2 separate regions of the Homo sapiens genome follow, and region 2 is linked to region 1. The links are contacts of gene promoters, found by promoter capture Hi-C in blood cells and fetal thymus (Javierre and others, 2016). All regions are on one chromosome and are shown on one strand. The core of a region is centred on a gene start or on the middle of the fragment in contact, and the rest is flanking DNA. Distances in the headings are between cores, read along the strand shown.

The links. Contacts are between HindIII fragments. The CHiCAGO score rates a contact against its expected background, and 5 or more counts as called.
Region 2: a fragment that was not itself captured here is called in contact with the fragment with the promoter of DYNC1H1 in region 1 in 14 of 17 cell types (total CD8 T cells, total B cells, naive CD8 T cells and 11 more); the score reaches 9.0 in total CD8 T cells.

The regions. Positions count from the first base shown.
Region 1 is chr14:101,962,592-101,969,396 of GRCh38, forward strand. It overlaps DYNC1H1 (dynein cytoplasmic 1 heavy chain 1), which reads left to right and starts at 1,982. Exons shown (of 78, transcript NM_001376.5): 1 at 1,982-2,356. The coding sequence starts at 2,101. RefSeq lists enhancers at 1,535-1,674, 1,719-2,329, 2,330-2,939 and silencers at 1,815-1,974, 2,465-2,674. The HindIII fragment of the contact is 2,903 bases long and covers 602-3,504 here.
Region 2 is chr14:101,707,526-101,715,213 of GRCh38, forward strand. The region is part of intron 1 of LINC02320 (long intergenic non-protein coding RNA 2320); the gene reads right to left. Among named protein-coding and RNA genes, the nearest start is that of LINC00239, 19 kb to the right of the region's middle. RefSeq lists an enhancer at 164-934. The HindIII fragment of the contact is 1,803 bases long and covers 2,329-4,131 here.

The DNA of each region.
Region 1 (6,805 bases), core at 732-3,231:
ACAAACATGTTTCATTTTGAGCCTATCCTACAGGGCCGCAAATCCGGAGCCTGCAGTTTGTTCTCTTGGCCTGGGGCCAGGTTGCAGATGTTTGAGTCCCTTGGATCCCTGAGTGGCTGCGTCTCCCAGTCTGGTGCTGACTCATGGTGCAGCCAGCATGCAGCCTGCCCATCGGCCAGGTCCCTGCAGGTTTCTGAGTCTCAGATGGTGGATGGCCTATTCAGAGTTCACAGATCTGCACCTAATAGACTTTCCTCTTTGTCCCTCTTTCTACCCCTAAAGTACATGTGAGGGGAAACCCTCTGCATGGTGCCTAGCACGCAGTGAACACTCAGCGTTCGCTGTCAGTGGTGTGTTATTATTATTCATTACCATTAGGATCCTTGCACAAACTCATCGCAGTTGCCTATTTATTTTTTCCAGGAAGATTACTCGGAACTGCTTAGGCACATCACACCAGGGCGGACTGATGGAGAGCAGGAAGATGGGGTATTCATCTGTCCCCTCTTCCACATGCTCCTTAAAGACAAGAATCATCTGATTAGTCTCCGTGTTCCAGCAACCCCCTGGGACCCAGCAACCGGTAATTAGGCAAGGAATAAGCTTATTGTATGTTTCACAGTTTTTCAAAGATGATTTGGGAGAATCAAATCATACCATCATCATTCCACCAATCAGGACTCGGCACTCTGACAGTGCACTTTGATGTTTAAAAAAAACAAAAAAACCAAAAAAAAAAAAAACGCCATTGGCTTCCCTCTCTCCACCCAACTTAAGAAAGAAGTTATGAATGTGAACTTTCAAAGGCCAATTACTACCCCTTAGAAGAACCTACCATCTCTAAACTACAAAGATGGGCAGCCTGGATTCTATTATTTTTATTATTTTACAAAATTCTTAATTTTTAAATACACATAGATATAGGGTCTCGCTAGGTTGACCAGGCTGGTCTTGGAACTTCTGGCCTCAAGCAATCCTCCCATCTCAGCCTCTCAAAATGCTAGGATTACAGGTGTGAGCCACCGCACCCAGCTGGGCAGCCTGGATTCTGGCTCTTATGTAGTCATGGTGTAGGGGAGGAGGTCGTGGTGGGTCCGAACTAGGGGGAAACTTGGTGGGCAGGCAACCCAGCCCCTGCCTTGTACGGACCCAGATACTGAGGCCCACAGAATGACAGTGCCAGCTCTAGGGGGCTGGAGGAGAGCCATTGCTGGAGGTAGCTGTTCTCAGTAGGTCTCCCTCTTGGTCCTCACAGCGTCCTCGGGGACAATGATTTTTGTCATTAGGAACCAGATCCCATCACAGCTTGGCTTTACGTACAGTGAAGGTGTCATTCCTGGCTTAACCTTACACTGCCCCGAAGGCCCCCTCCCCAGCTGTCCGTTTCCAGCCTGGCAATGGGACTCTCTGAGCACGCCCCTCATCTCCTCCCCCTCTGAAAAGTATCCTCAATCTCCCGGTCTATATCTAATAACACATCTGTCGTGCCTATATTTTGGTACCTGATACGTAGTCATTCATTCATTCAATGAGAGAACATTTAATGAGAGGTTAAGGGGCTTAGAACAACGCCGGGCACAGGCTAAGCGCTCACTAAACGTTAGCTCTCGCCAATAACATCACTGATTCACTATAAAGTTTCTCTGGCTGTGTGCTATTCGCTGCGTCCACAGCAGTGAAGAAGACAGACGCAGCCCCTGACCAACCTCGCCAAGCCCGGGCGCCGAGCCAGGACGTTGAGCCAAGTCCCCATCTCCTAGGACTCGCAGTGCGGAGGCTGCGGGCCCCGACCAGCGCCGAGACTACAAGTCCCAGAAGGGCGCGCGGCGACATCGCCGGGCCCGCCCCCCGCGCACGCGCGGCGCCGTGACGCTAAGGCCGCGAGCGAGCGCGGGTGGCTGCGGCGGCTGCGGCCGGCGGGGCGGGGCGGGGCCACCTGGCAGTGGCTGCCTTTAGGGCGGAGCCGGCTCCCGCTCTCCTCAGTCTGCGGTGGGCTAGCGGACGGTCCGGCTTCCGGCGGCCGTTTCTGTCTCTTGCTGGCTGTCTCGCTGAGTCGCGGCCGCCTTCTCATCGCTCCTGGAAGGTCCCGAGCGCGACACCATGTCGGAGCCCGGGGGCGGCGGCGGCGAGGACGGCTCGGCCGGATTGGAAGTGTCGGCCGTGCAGAATGTGGCGGACGTGTCGGTGCTGCAGAAGCACCTGCGCAAGCTGGTGCCGCTGCTGCTGGAGGACGGCGGCGAGGCGCCGGCCGCGCTGGAGGCGGCGCTGGAGGAGAAGAGCGCCCTGGAGCAGATGCGCAAGTTCCTTTCGGACCCGCAGGTCCACACGGTGCTGGTGGAGCGCTCCACGCTCAAAGGTGCGGGGCCGCGGAGGGCAGGGTCGCCAGAGCCAGGCCTCGCGGAATGCAGGGCCTGCCAGGTCCTCCGGGGTCGCAGATGTCCCCGGGATGGGAGGAGCCCGGCAGCTGCAGATGACCCCTGGATGGGCAGAGCCCGGCGGCCGCAGACGTCCCGCCGGCCGGGTCCCCAGGGCCGCAGACGCCCCGCAGAGGCCGGCGCGGCGCCCGGGGCTCGCCCTCGCCACACCCACTGCCCGGCCCGGAGCCCCCAGGGCGCCCCGCTCCTGGTCGCGGGGAGGGGAAAGGGGTCCCCGTCTGCCGTCACCCAAAACAATGGGGTCGCTTTGTCTGCTCGGGCCTCTCAAGATGGCCGAGTTGGGTGGAGACAGCGTCTCCCTGGGCTGAGAGCGGGCGAGGCCGCATCCCTGCCTCCAGTGTCACATGAGCTTTTCGGTTTCGATTTGTGTCCAAGCCAAGTGGCCTTCGGGAGGGATGTGTCGGGGGCAGACCCGCGGAGCTGGGGGCAGCCGGGGTTCTGGTTCGGGAGGAGGTCGGGCGGGTGTCCCAGCCCTGCCTTGTGGGGACCCAGAGGCCGAGGCCCACAGAGCGACGGTGCCAGCCCCGGGCCTGCGAGCATCACTGTTGTAGGTGGATGCTCTCACAGCATCCTTGCTGAACGGGTGTATCCTGATTTTACACCTGAGGAAACTGAGGCTCAGGTTAAGTGATTTCACCCAAGGTCACCAGCTAATCTTAGTCCTGAGACTAGACTCAGTGTCTCAGCTCCCCATCCACTGCTTGTTTTCACTGATCATACCTCATATTTGTTTAATGCTTCGATGATGTTAATGATAACCCTGTAATATTTGAGTCTAATTTTACAGATTAAAAAAAAAAAAAAAGATTCAGGTTAGGCACCTAGTAGGGGGAAGAGGCTAGAGTTAGCGTGTTCCAGCTGTCTCCTCAAATAATGATCGCCCACCAGCAAGGTTACATTCATCTAAGTCTGGGGCTTGCCTGCAGGCAGGCTTTCTCATGGATTCATTACAACCACTTTGTAGCCCATTACAACCACTTTGGGTGTGGCGTGTCCATCTAAGAACCTAAGGATGATGTCCAAGGTTAGCCTCTAGGGATTGGAGATTGTCTAAAAATATTTGCCAACAAGCTTCTTAAAATTTCAAAAAACTGTATGGTTCTCTCAGTGAGAGACCCTGTACTGTCTGCCCCATCCTTAACACACACTGTGTTTCTGATGGTTTGTTTCTTTCAAAGGCTATTCTTACTCAGAAGATGCTTCCCTGTAGCCTTGGTTTCCTGCCAGAGATTAGCAGGGTGTAAAAGAATATTTTTTTCTTATATCCACGTGGAATGTTCAAGGCAAATAAACCATTTGAGCATATTTAGAGTATTAATGTTTTTGAGGGTTGTTTACTGTGATGTTTGGGATTATGTATTCCTAAGTGGAAGCCACAAAAGTTAAAAAAAAAAAATTTATCTACTCTTTTTTTTTTCCAAAAAACATATAGTCATTGTAGAAAATGTACTATACAGCTAAAGTAAAAATCACTGGGAATTGTTTGACCCAGATATAATCACTGTCAGCATTTTTGGTTTATGTCTTTGTGGTCATTTTTCAATGCATATTCGTCATTTTATTAAAATACATTTTAATCTGCATTTTTAAAGTTAATTGTATTTTGAGTAGCTTGACCATTGCTAATCCTTGATATTTTTATTGCATAGTTTATGTATTAGAATCAGTGATTTTATTTTTTTTACCTTGTGTCACTCTTTTTATGAAAAAAAATTTAAGTTTTATACTTTGCTTCTAGAGTGATCACCAGTAATTCGCTTTTTCCAGGCATCTTAAAATTGGACGTTGCTAAAATTATTGGGGTGGGGGGACTATGTTTATGTAGTACAATATCTACTACAAATTCTCTCTGTTGTCTTATGAGTACCTTTTTTTCTTTCAGCAAAACAAATATGCAGGTATCCAAATCTTGGCTCCATAATGACTTGCACTTTTGAAAGTTGACTAAGGAATGAGACTATCTAAAATTGAAATCCTACCTCATTTCTGTATTTATAACAATCCTTGAAGTATTTCTACCAATTCAACCTGTCTATAATTTATTTTTCACTTACAAAAACCTAAGGAAAGATTTTTAAATTAATCCAGTTTTATGATAGATGGTCTGTTTGTCTTATTAGCAGCCTGGCTACACTAGGACACCTTAGATATAAGTAGAGACCCAGGACTTTTGGTAGGAGGGCTTTCTTCTTGGTGGCTTTTATGAGTTAGCTTTGGCATTTGTACATTTAATCAAATATGTGCATCCAGTAGTTAATTACAGTGAAAAGATAGGCATGCATTAATGTAGACAACAGAGCTGAATTATTTAAACTGAATAAAGATCACCAACAATGAAGTCATGTAATTTAATGAACAGTAGAAATTACTTTTATTTATTTTATTCCTTCCACTTTTTTTGTGGAAGTATCCAAACACTTGTAATTGAATATAGAAACATTTTTATGTGAAACTATATATATTTTTTATTTGTTTGTTTGTTTTAGCTACCCCAGCTAGCCATAAACTTTTGTTGTTAAAGTGCAGCATTGAGCTGGGTGCGGTGGCTCACACCTGTAATCCCAGCACTTTGGGAGACCAAGGCAGGAGGATCACTTGAGGCCAGGAGTTCAAGACCAGCCTGGGCAACATAGCAAGACCCTATCTCTACAGAAAATTAAAAAATAAGCCAGGCATGGTGGTGTATGCCAGTAGTTCCAGCTACTTGAGAAAATTGCTTGAGCCCAGGAGTTTGACGCTGTGGTGAACTAGGATCACACCACTTTGCTCCAGCCTGGGTACAGAGTGAGACCCTATCTCTAAAATAAATCAAGTACAGCATTACTCAAAGTATAGAATAAATGTTGTGAATTTAACAACTCATCTTGATACTGAGGAATTGGAGAGTTTGTGGGAAAAAGGGATTAAGTTATAGCTCCTCATTTTAAAAAGAGAAACCTTTGTATAGTTCCTGGCCTGTAGGAAATTGTCTTCCTCATAGTATGCTTACAGCATGGTGACAAAATAGGTGCTCATTACTTAACTAGCCATTTTATGTTAATGACGTTTTTGTAGCATTTTTTACTTCAAGGACCATTTTTTGGTTGTGTATCTCCGTTCGGTGGGGTATGCTTCAGTTTGCAGCTGATGGAACTGACATTTCCATGACTTGTCTGCTCTGCAGCTTGTTCATGACCTGCCTGGGATTGGCTGCTAGGTTGGTTGGTCTGGATGAGAGCGTGTAGTTTGGGTTTTTTGTTTGTTTTTGGTGGGGAAAGGGTTTTGTTTTGTTTTGTTTTGTTTGAGACAGGGTCTCAACTGTGTCACCCAGGCAGGAGTGCAGTGGCCCAGTCATGGCTCATTGCCACCTCGGCCTCCTGGGCTCCCAGTTCATTTTCTCATTTTTTTAATAGAGAGGAGGTCTCACCATGTTGCCCAGGCTGGTCTGGGACTTCAGGGCTCAAGCAATACTTCCACCTCCGCCTGCCAAAGTGCTGGGATTACAGGTGTGAGCTACCACACCCCACGTGTTTGTTTGTTTAACACTCCAGTGTTTGAGACTTGGAATTTTTTTTTTGAGACAGGGTCTCACTGTTGTCCAGGTTGGAGTGCAGTGGCACAATCTCTGCTCACCGCATCCTCAACCTCCGGTCTCAAGCGATCCACCCATCTCAGCCTCCTGAGTAGCTGGGATTACAGGCACACACCACCACGCCTGGCTCATTGTTGTATTTTTTGTAGAGGCAGGGTCTCCCCATGTTGCCCAGGCTGGTCTTGAACTCTTGGACACAAGTGATCCTGCTACCTCAGCCTCCCAAAGTGCCAGGATTACAGGCGTGCGCCATGACATCCAGCCTGAGGATTTAATTCTAAAGGATGAAGAAATGTAGTTTAATCAATGTAATTAATCTCCAACACAACATATCACCATGATTTCGTGCATTTAGAGGAGAAATGTTTTCTGGTTAAGTGGAAAATTGTACTATTGGCTTCTGCAAGACCTTCTTTCTTTCTTTTTTTCTTTTTTTTTGAGACAGAGTCTCGCCCTGTCTCCCAGGCTGGAGTGCAGTGGCACGATCTCAGCTCACTGAAAGCTCCGCCTCCCGGGTTCACGCCATTCTCCTGCCTGAGCCTCCCAAGTAGCTGGGACTACAGGCGCCTGCCACCACACCTGGTTAATTTTTTTTTTTTTTTTTAGTAGAGACGGGGTTTCACCGTGTTAGCCAGGATGATCTCGATCTCCTGACCTCGTGATCCACCCGCCTTGGCCTCCCAAAGTGCTGCGATTACAGGCGTGAGCCACCGTGCCTGGCCAAGACCTTCTTTCTAAAGCAGCTTTATAGTGAAACATTTTATTTAGAAATCTGGACCTTCTTTCTTCAGTTTACTGT
Region 2 (7,688 bases), core at 1,980-4,479, 250 kb before region 1:
AGAAAACTTCCTGCCCATTCAGCACACGCAAGCCACTGTTGCATGTTTCTTGTGTCAGCTCAAGTAATTCTCACAACCAGCCATGAAGTATTTGTTGTTGCCCTTACACAGCCGAAGAATCTGAGGTTCAGAGTATTTGAGTAATTTGGCTGAGGTCACACAGCAGTGACTCTTAGAGGCAGGACCAAGCCCAGGTCTTGTCTCCAGAGGCTGCACTGTGCACCCCCATACTGCTTCCTGTTCGACCTGTATGATACTGCATGCATTTAAGTTCATGTTCTAGCAAAATATCTCCCTGTATAAGGTGCCAAACTTTTATTTGAAGTGCTAGGGGTGCACACAGTGCAGCACAGAGGAAAGTCCTTTGTTTCGTCCCAGGAGTTTGGGTCTGACCCTGTAGCAGGGTGTGCTTGTGCCGGCTCACAAGCAGACTATTACAGTGCAGGGTGTGTAGTAGGACCCTCTGGGCTCCCTCATCCCCACCAGTGCTCACATGCTCCTGATCACCAAGGACAGCCGTCCTGGACCTCCCCAAGTCGTCATGCAGGCCATCTGGGAAGGGAATATGCCCAGGAGCTCCGCCTCTGAGCTGTTGGAAATGCATGCCCCAGGGTGGGCTCAGAGAGCAGGCAAACACACAGGGTATTGTCCAGGTGACGGAGGGGGTCCTGGGCCCTATCTGGGGGCTGCTGTAGGGTTAGCAGCTGAGAAAGGGCCTCACAGCTCTAGCCAAGGAGTCTTCCCTATTCACCCAAATCTGGAAGTTTCATATGGTTCTGGAGACCCGGCTCTGAGAGGACCCCAGCTCCAGAGGGCGGAGGCCACATTTGCATCCCCCGGCTTTGCAAAGCCCTGCCACATAGCAGTGGACTCCATACATACTCAGAGGTAAAGAGAGGGTGAGAAAGAGAAAGGGAAGGATGAAGGGAGGGAGGCTCAGACAGAGGGTGGAAGGGGCAAAGACCAGCGAGTCCATCTGGGCCCCACAAGTGGACCCAGGGAGCTGGCATGGGGCGTGGCTTGTGGAGGAGGGTGAGTCTGGACAGCAGCGGGCCACCTGTTTAGGCTTTGTCCCAGGAGTCTGGGTCTGACCCTGTAGCAGGGTGTGCTTGTGCCGGCTCACAAGCAGACTATTACATTTTCAGGAATTTTGCAGATCAGTTGTTAAGCACAGCCATTATTAAAGATTAAATTATATTCAAAAACAGGTAATAAATACTCAAAACTTTCTAACATTTTACTATACTTTATTGTTTTCTCTGCCGTTGAGGTTATTTCTGTGTGGTGCGTCTGTGTAGTAGAGCCTGTGTGACGATGTGCTATTGATCTCTTCCCCACGGCATAGTCAGTGACTTCAGATTGGTAGTTTGAAATTGGCCATGACAGGCAGATTTACACCATGGAAATTGGCAAACACTGCCAATCGGGGCTTTTTATCCAGAGCAGTCGTTAAACATTTACACGTAGTGCACTACTGTCCATAAGGGGCAGCATGGTCAGACTGCACTTTTAAAAGGTCTTGAGGGCAGGGGAACCAAGAGGCGTTCAAGTAAAGGAGTGAAGAATCAGAGCGTGACGTAGTTTAGCGACTTGGACCAGGACACGTTTGAAAGCCTAAGTACCTTAGAGGAGCCACTGGCTGACGTCCAGATGGCAGAAAGAAAGCCACCCCAAATCAGGCCCTCTCATTCAGTGCTGAGGAGCACGGTCTAGACGGCTGGTTCAACTTTTAAACACATGGGAAAATAATCCCCACTGGGACACAGCCCCGCCGCCCTGGATCCCAGCCTGCCCCAGGGTGTCTGTCTGCTGCTTCTGCCACCCTGCAGCTGCGCAAATGTTTGGGGAAGGGTCCTATCTGGAGGGGCCTCCTTTCACCGCCCAGATGCAGCAGGGCAAGCCTGGGCAGCTGTGTTGGACACCAGCCCCACGCTGCCTCCGTTGCCTTCATTCTCAGATGAGGAGGATGCAGGGAAACAGGGCAGGGGTGGGGGATGGGGGAGGGACAGAAGGCGAGGACTGCAGTTTTGGGGCATTTTCAACATCATTAGCCACGTCGAGTAGACGGCCGGAGGTGGGTGGGAGAGGTATTTGGGCATTGCTGGCACGCACGTAGGAGCTCCACAGGGGCCAGTGTAGGTAAAGGGAAGAACTGAGGTCGGAGAGGAGCTGAGAACATGTGGTGGGGGCATCGGTGGAGGCAAAGGGCCCCCCAAAACAGCTCGCTCCCTGGCTGGAGATGCTGTGCCAAACAGAAAGAGGAGGAGGACTTCATCGGAGGAGGCCAAGCTAGTGCCACCTAGCAGTGCCCTACACTTAGGTTCCAAAAGCTTGGTGTCTTGGGTTCTCAGGCACCATAGGCCACAGTGCTCACATATAAAGGGTATATGGAGGTTAAAAAAAAAAGCCTCTGTGACCAAACGGTCTCCTCACCAACACACAGCTCACAGCTGAGTTCTGCCTTAAATGCAATGAGGTCTGCCTGACCCCATAATCTCACATTGGCCCCAACTGGCCAACACCAGCCACCACGACCAATCCAGAACCTTTGCTAGACCAGCTGAGGCTGCAGGAGAGAGGTCCTGGCTTCAGCGAGAAGGAAATGAAGGATACATCAGCCCAAGATATATCCTAGGTGGACCAGCCAGGTCACCTAGGCCCTGCCTATAGCCCAGGCCGGCACACGGGACCTGTCCCTCTTCCTGTTGGTCAGCACAGGGATCCAGGAAGCGAGAAGTGGGGAGGTGGGGCCTTTTATGCAGTGACTGTGCCCACCGACCACACCTGCTGGCCACGCCTACTGCTAAACGCAGCCCAAACAGTGACTCAGCTTCCACCAATCCAATCAGCATCCGTTCCTCCATGGGAGGTGTTTGGAGAGGGAGTAGGCTCAGAGATGAGCTGAGGTCTGGAAGACTCCTCTCCAACAAACATCTCAGGGGAACCCAAACACCAAGAGGCAGGAGCACAGCTGCTCTGGCCAAAGGGAGGGCCTCAAGCCCACTTAGTCTTCACCTCACTAGGAGCCAGGGCACACTGCCTGTGAGAATGCTGGGAGCCCACTCACTCCTTAAAACCACACTGTGAGGCCAGATTCACTACCCTTCTTGTACAGAAGAAGAGACTGAGGTTCAGAGAGGCCCACTATACACCCAATGGCACACAGCTGTTGGGTAGCAGCCTCACTGGCCTCCTTCACTGGGCTTGTCCCCCTCCAGTGACTGCCTGGTTAGGGACACCAGGCATGAGGCTAGGACAGGCACCCCATGGATCAGCTCCACCTGCCTCTCAATGGCTCACCCAAAAAGATACCAGTAACTCAAAGGAAGGGGGTGCTGTGGTCTGAATGTGTTCCCCCAACATTTATGTGTTGAAATCCTAACTCCCAGGCGATGGTATTAAGAGGAAATTGGTACCAAGTGGGGGTGCTACTGTAACAAGTACCTAAAAATGTGGAAGCAGCTTTGGAACTGGAAGAGTTTGGGGGTACCTGCCAGAAAACGCCTACATTGCCATGAATGAACCATTAAGGGTGATTCTGGGGAGGGCTCAGAAAGACAAGAGACTTGGAATCCCACAGACCATGTTCCCCGGGGCCGCCTGTCCACCCCCCTCACTCAACCACCGGGCCATCCAGTGCTGGGGATGAGGAAACAGCCGGGCCCCTGCCTGCCTGTGGAGGCCCCATCTGGTCATCTGCTGTCACCCATGACGAAGTGCAAGGAGGTCTATGTTTGAATGTCCCAGAGGCCAGCCCAGCCACTCCACTGAGAATTTCACCCCTCCCAGGCGTCACCTCCCTTCCCAGCTTCATGTAGCTCCAGGACACAGGAAACAGCATTCCTCCTTTACCCTGTTGCCTCCACCCTCCACCACAACACAGACACCAGGCAGGCTCTTTCCAGCACTGTGTTCCCTGCAGAACCCCCTGCCACAGACCCACACTCATTCCCTGAAGGGAGGGAGGCAGGCAGAAGGGTGGCAGGAGGACCCCCCTGCACAGAGCTGCTGCCCCAGCTGCACGGCCAGAGAAGGGGGGCAGCCAGTGTGGGGAGGGGTGGCAGTCAAAGGAGTGCCACAGGGGAGCAGCAGCTGGGGCTGGGTCTAGACACTCAACAGAGGTTGACTGGAAGCTTCCACTGTGGCTAAGGGACAGCCACTCCTGCCTTGTCCCCTCACAGGTCAAGTCCTCAGAGGAAACACAGAGGACAGAACTCAGCACTTCCCAACTGCAATCTCACCCCACCCAGCGAGATCTCACCCCACCCAGCGAGATCTCACCCGACCCACCGATATCTCACCCCACCCACCGAGATCTCACCCCACCGAGATCTCACCCCACCGAGATCTCACCCCACCCACCATCATCTCTCCCCACCCACCGTCATCTCACCCCACCCACCGTCATCTCTCCCCACCCACCGTCATCTCACCCCACCCACCGTCATCTCACCCCACCCACCATCTCTCCCCCCCCACCGTCATCTCCCCCCCACCCACCATCTCTCCCCACCCACCGTCATCTCTCCCCACCCACCGTCATCTCTCCCCACCCACCGTCATCTCACCCCACCCACTGTCATCTCACCCCACCGAGATCTCACCCCACCCACTGTCATCTCACCCCACCCACTGTCATCTCACCCCACCCACCGAGATCTCACCCCACCCACCATCATCTCTCCCCACCCACCGTCATCTCATCCCACCCACCGTCATCTCTCCCCACCCACCGTCATCTCATCCCACCCACCGTCATCTCTCCCCACCCACCGTCATCTCATCCCACCCACCGTCATCTCTCCCCACCCACTGTCATCTCTCCCCACCCACCGTCATCTCACCCCACCCACCGTCATCTCACCCCACCCACTGTCATCTCTCCCCACCCACTGAGATCTCACCCCACCCGCCGTCATCTCACCCCACCCACTGTCATCTCTCCCCACCCACCAAGATCTCACCCCACCCACCGAGATCTCACCCCACCCACCGTCATTTCTCCCCACCCACTGTCATCTCTCCCGACCCACCGTCATCTCACCCCACCCACCGTCATCTCATCCCACCCACCGTCATCTCACCCCACCGTCATCTCACCCCACCCACCGTCATCTCACCCCACTGTCATCTCACCCCACCCACCATCATCTCACCCCACCCACCGTCATCTCACCCCACCCACCGTCATCTCTCCCCACCCACCGTCATCTCACCCCACCCACCGTCATCTCTCCCCACCCACCAAGATCTCACCCCACCCACCGTCATCTCTCCCCACCGTCATCTCACCCCACCCACCGTCATCTCACCCCACCCACCGTCATCTCTCCCCACCCACCGAGATCTCACCCCACCCACCGTCATCTCACCCCACCCACCGTCATCTCACCCCACCCACCGTCATCTCCCCCCACCCACTGTCATCTCTCCCCACCCACTGTCATCTCACCCCACCGAGATCTCTCCCCACCCACCGTCATCTCTCCCAACCCACTGTCATCTCACCCCACCCACTGTCATCTCACCCGAGATCTCACCCCACCCACCGTCATCTCCCCCCACCCACCGTCATCTCCCCCCACCCACTGTCATCTCTCCCAACCCACTGTCATCTCACCCGAGATCTCACCCCACCCACTGTCATCTCACCCCACCCACTGTCATCTCACCCCACCCACTGTCATCTCTCCCCACCGTCATCTCACCCCACCCGCTGTCATCTCACCCCACCCACTGTCATCTCTCCCCACCCACTGTCATCTCACCCCACCCACTGTCATCTCTCCCCACCCACTGTCATCTCACCCCACCCACTGTCATCTCACCCCACCCACCGTCATCTCTCCGGACCCACCGTCATCTCTCCCCACCCACCGTCATCTCATCCCACCCACCGTCATCTCTCCCCACCCACCGTCATCTCCCCCCACCCACCGTCATCTCCCCCCACCCACTGTCATCTCTCCCCACCCACCGTCATCTCACCCCACCCACCGTCATCTCACCCCACCCACCGTCATCTCACCCCACCCACTGTCATCCCACCCCACCCACTGTCATCTCACCCGAGATCTCACCCCACCCACTGTCATCTCACCCCACCCGCTGTCATCTCACCCCACCCACCGTCATCTCACCCCACCCACTGTCATCTCACCCCACCGAGATCTCACCCCACCCACCGTCATCTCTCCCCACCCACTGTCATCTCACCCCACCCACTGAGATCTCACCCAAGTATAATCTTGCAGCACCGCTTTTCTTTCTAATGTCTTGACAAGCAGGTGAGAAGATGCTGAGTGTTCTTGGTCCATTGCTGTGGCTACAAAGGCTGGTTCTAGTGTCTCACTGGCTGTCTCCTGCTCAAGCATGGTTTTAGCAGTTCCCTTCTTATCCCGGGCCATACTAGACCTACTGTCTTCCCTGGCTTGCACTATGCTATGGTTTGAATGTTTGTCTCCTTCCTCATGTTGAAATTTAACCCCCAATGTGGCAGTATTGGGAGGTGGGGCCTTTAAGAGGTGATTATGTCATATGTCCCCTTCCCTCATGAGTAGATTACTCCATTCAGCGAGTAATGGGCTAATGGATGTTCTTGGGAGTAGGACTTGTGGCTCTATAACAAGGAGAGAGAACTGAGCTTGCACACTCAGCCCCTCATCTTGTGATGCCCTGGGCTGCCTTGGGACTTTGCAGAAAGTCCCTGCTAGCATGAAGGCCCTCACCAGATGCAGCCTCTCAACCTTGGACTTCCCAGCCTTCAGGACTGTAAGAAATAAATCTTGTTTCTTTATTAATTACCCAGTTTCAGGTATTCTGTTATAAGCCACAGTAAATGGACTAAGACAGGCTGTGGTAACAAACTACCATTAAATGGGTGGCTTAAATAACAGATTTATTTCTTAGAGTTCTAGGGTCTGGGGAGTCCAAGATCAAGGTGCTGGTAGATCCCCTGTCTGATACGAGCTCACTTCCAGGTTTGTAGATAGCCACCTTCTCATTGTGTCCTACATGGCAGACAGCAGACAGAGGAGGAGCAAACTCCACTGTCTCTTCGTATAAGGGCACTAATCCCATTCATGAGGGCCACACCCTCATGACCTAATTACATCCCAAAGGCCCACCTCTGAATATCCTTGTGTTGAAGGTTAGGAATTCAACACATGAATTTGGGGGAGACAAACGTTTAGTCCATAACACCTATAACAACCAAGACACAGCTACCAGCCACATGTGGCTACTGAGCCAGTATGAATTGGGATGGGCTATAAAATGCAAAATATACACTGAAATGTAATGATTCTGTATAAAGGCTGGGTACAGTGGCTTAGGCCTATAATCCCAACAATTTGGGAGGCTGAGGTGGGAAGATCCCTTGAGACCAGCCTGGGCAACATAGGAAGACCCCATTTCTAGAAAAAAATTTCCCAGTCTGGGCAACATAGAGAGAACTTGTCTCTGTAGAAATTTTTAAAAATTAGCCAGGCATGGTGCAGGCACCTGTAGTCCCATCTACCCAGGAGGCTGAGGTGGAAGGATACCCTGAGCCTGGGAGGTCGAGGCTTCAGTAAGCTATGATCATGCCACTGCACTCCAGCCTGGGTTACAGAGTGAGCCTCTTCTCAATTTAAAAAAAAAAAAAAAAAAAAAAGATTTAGTAGGAAAAAAGGATGAAGGCAAAATAT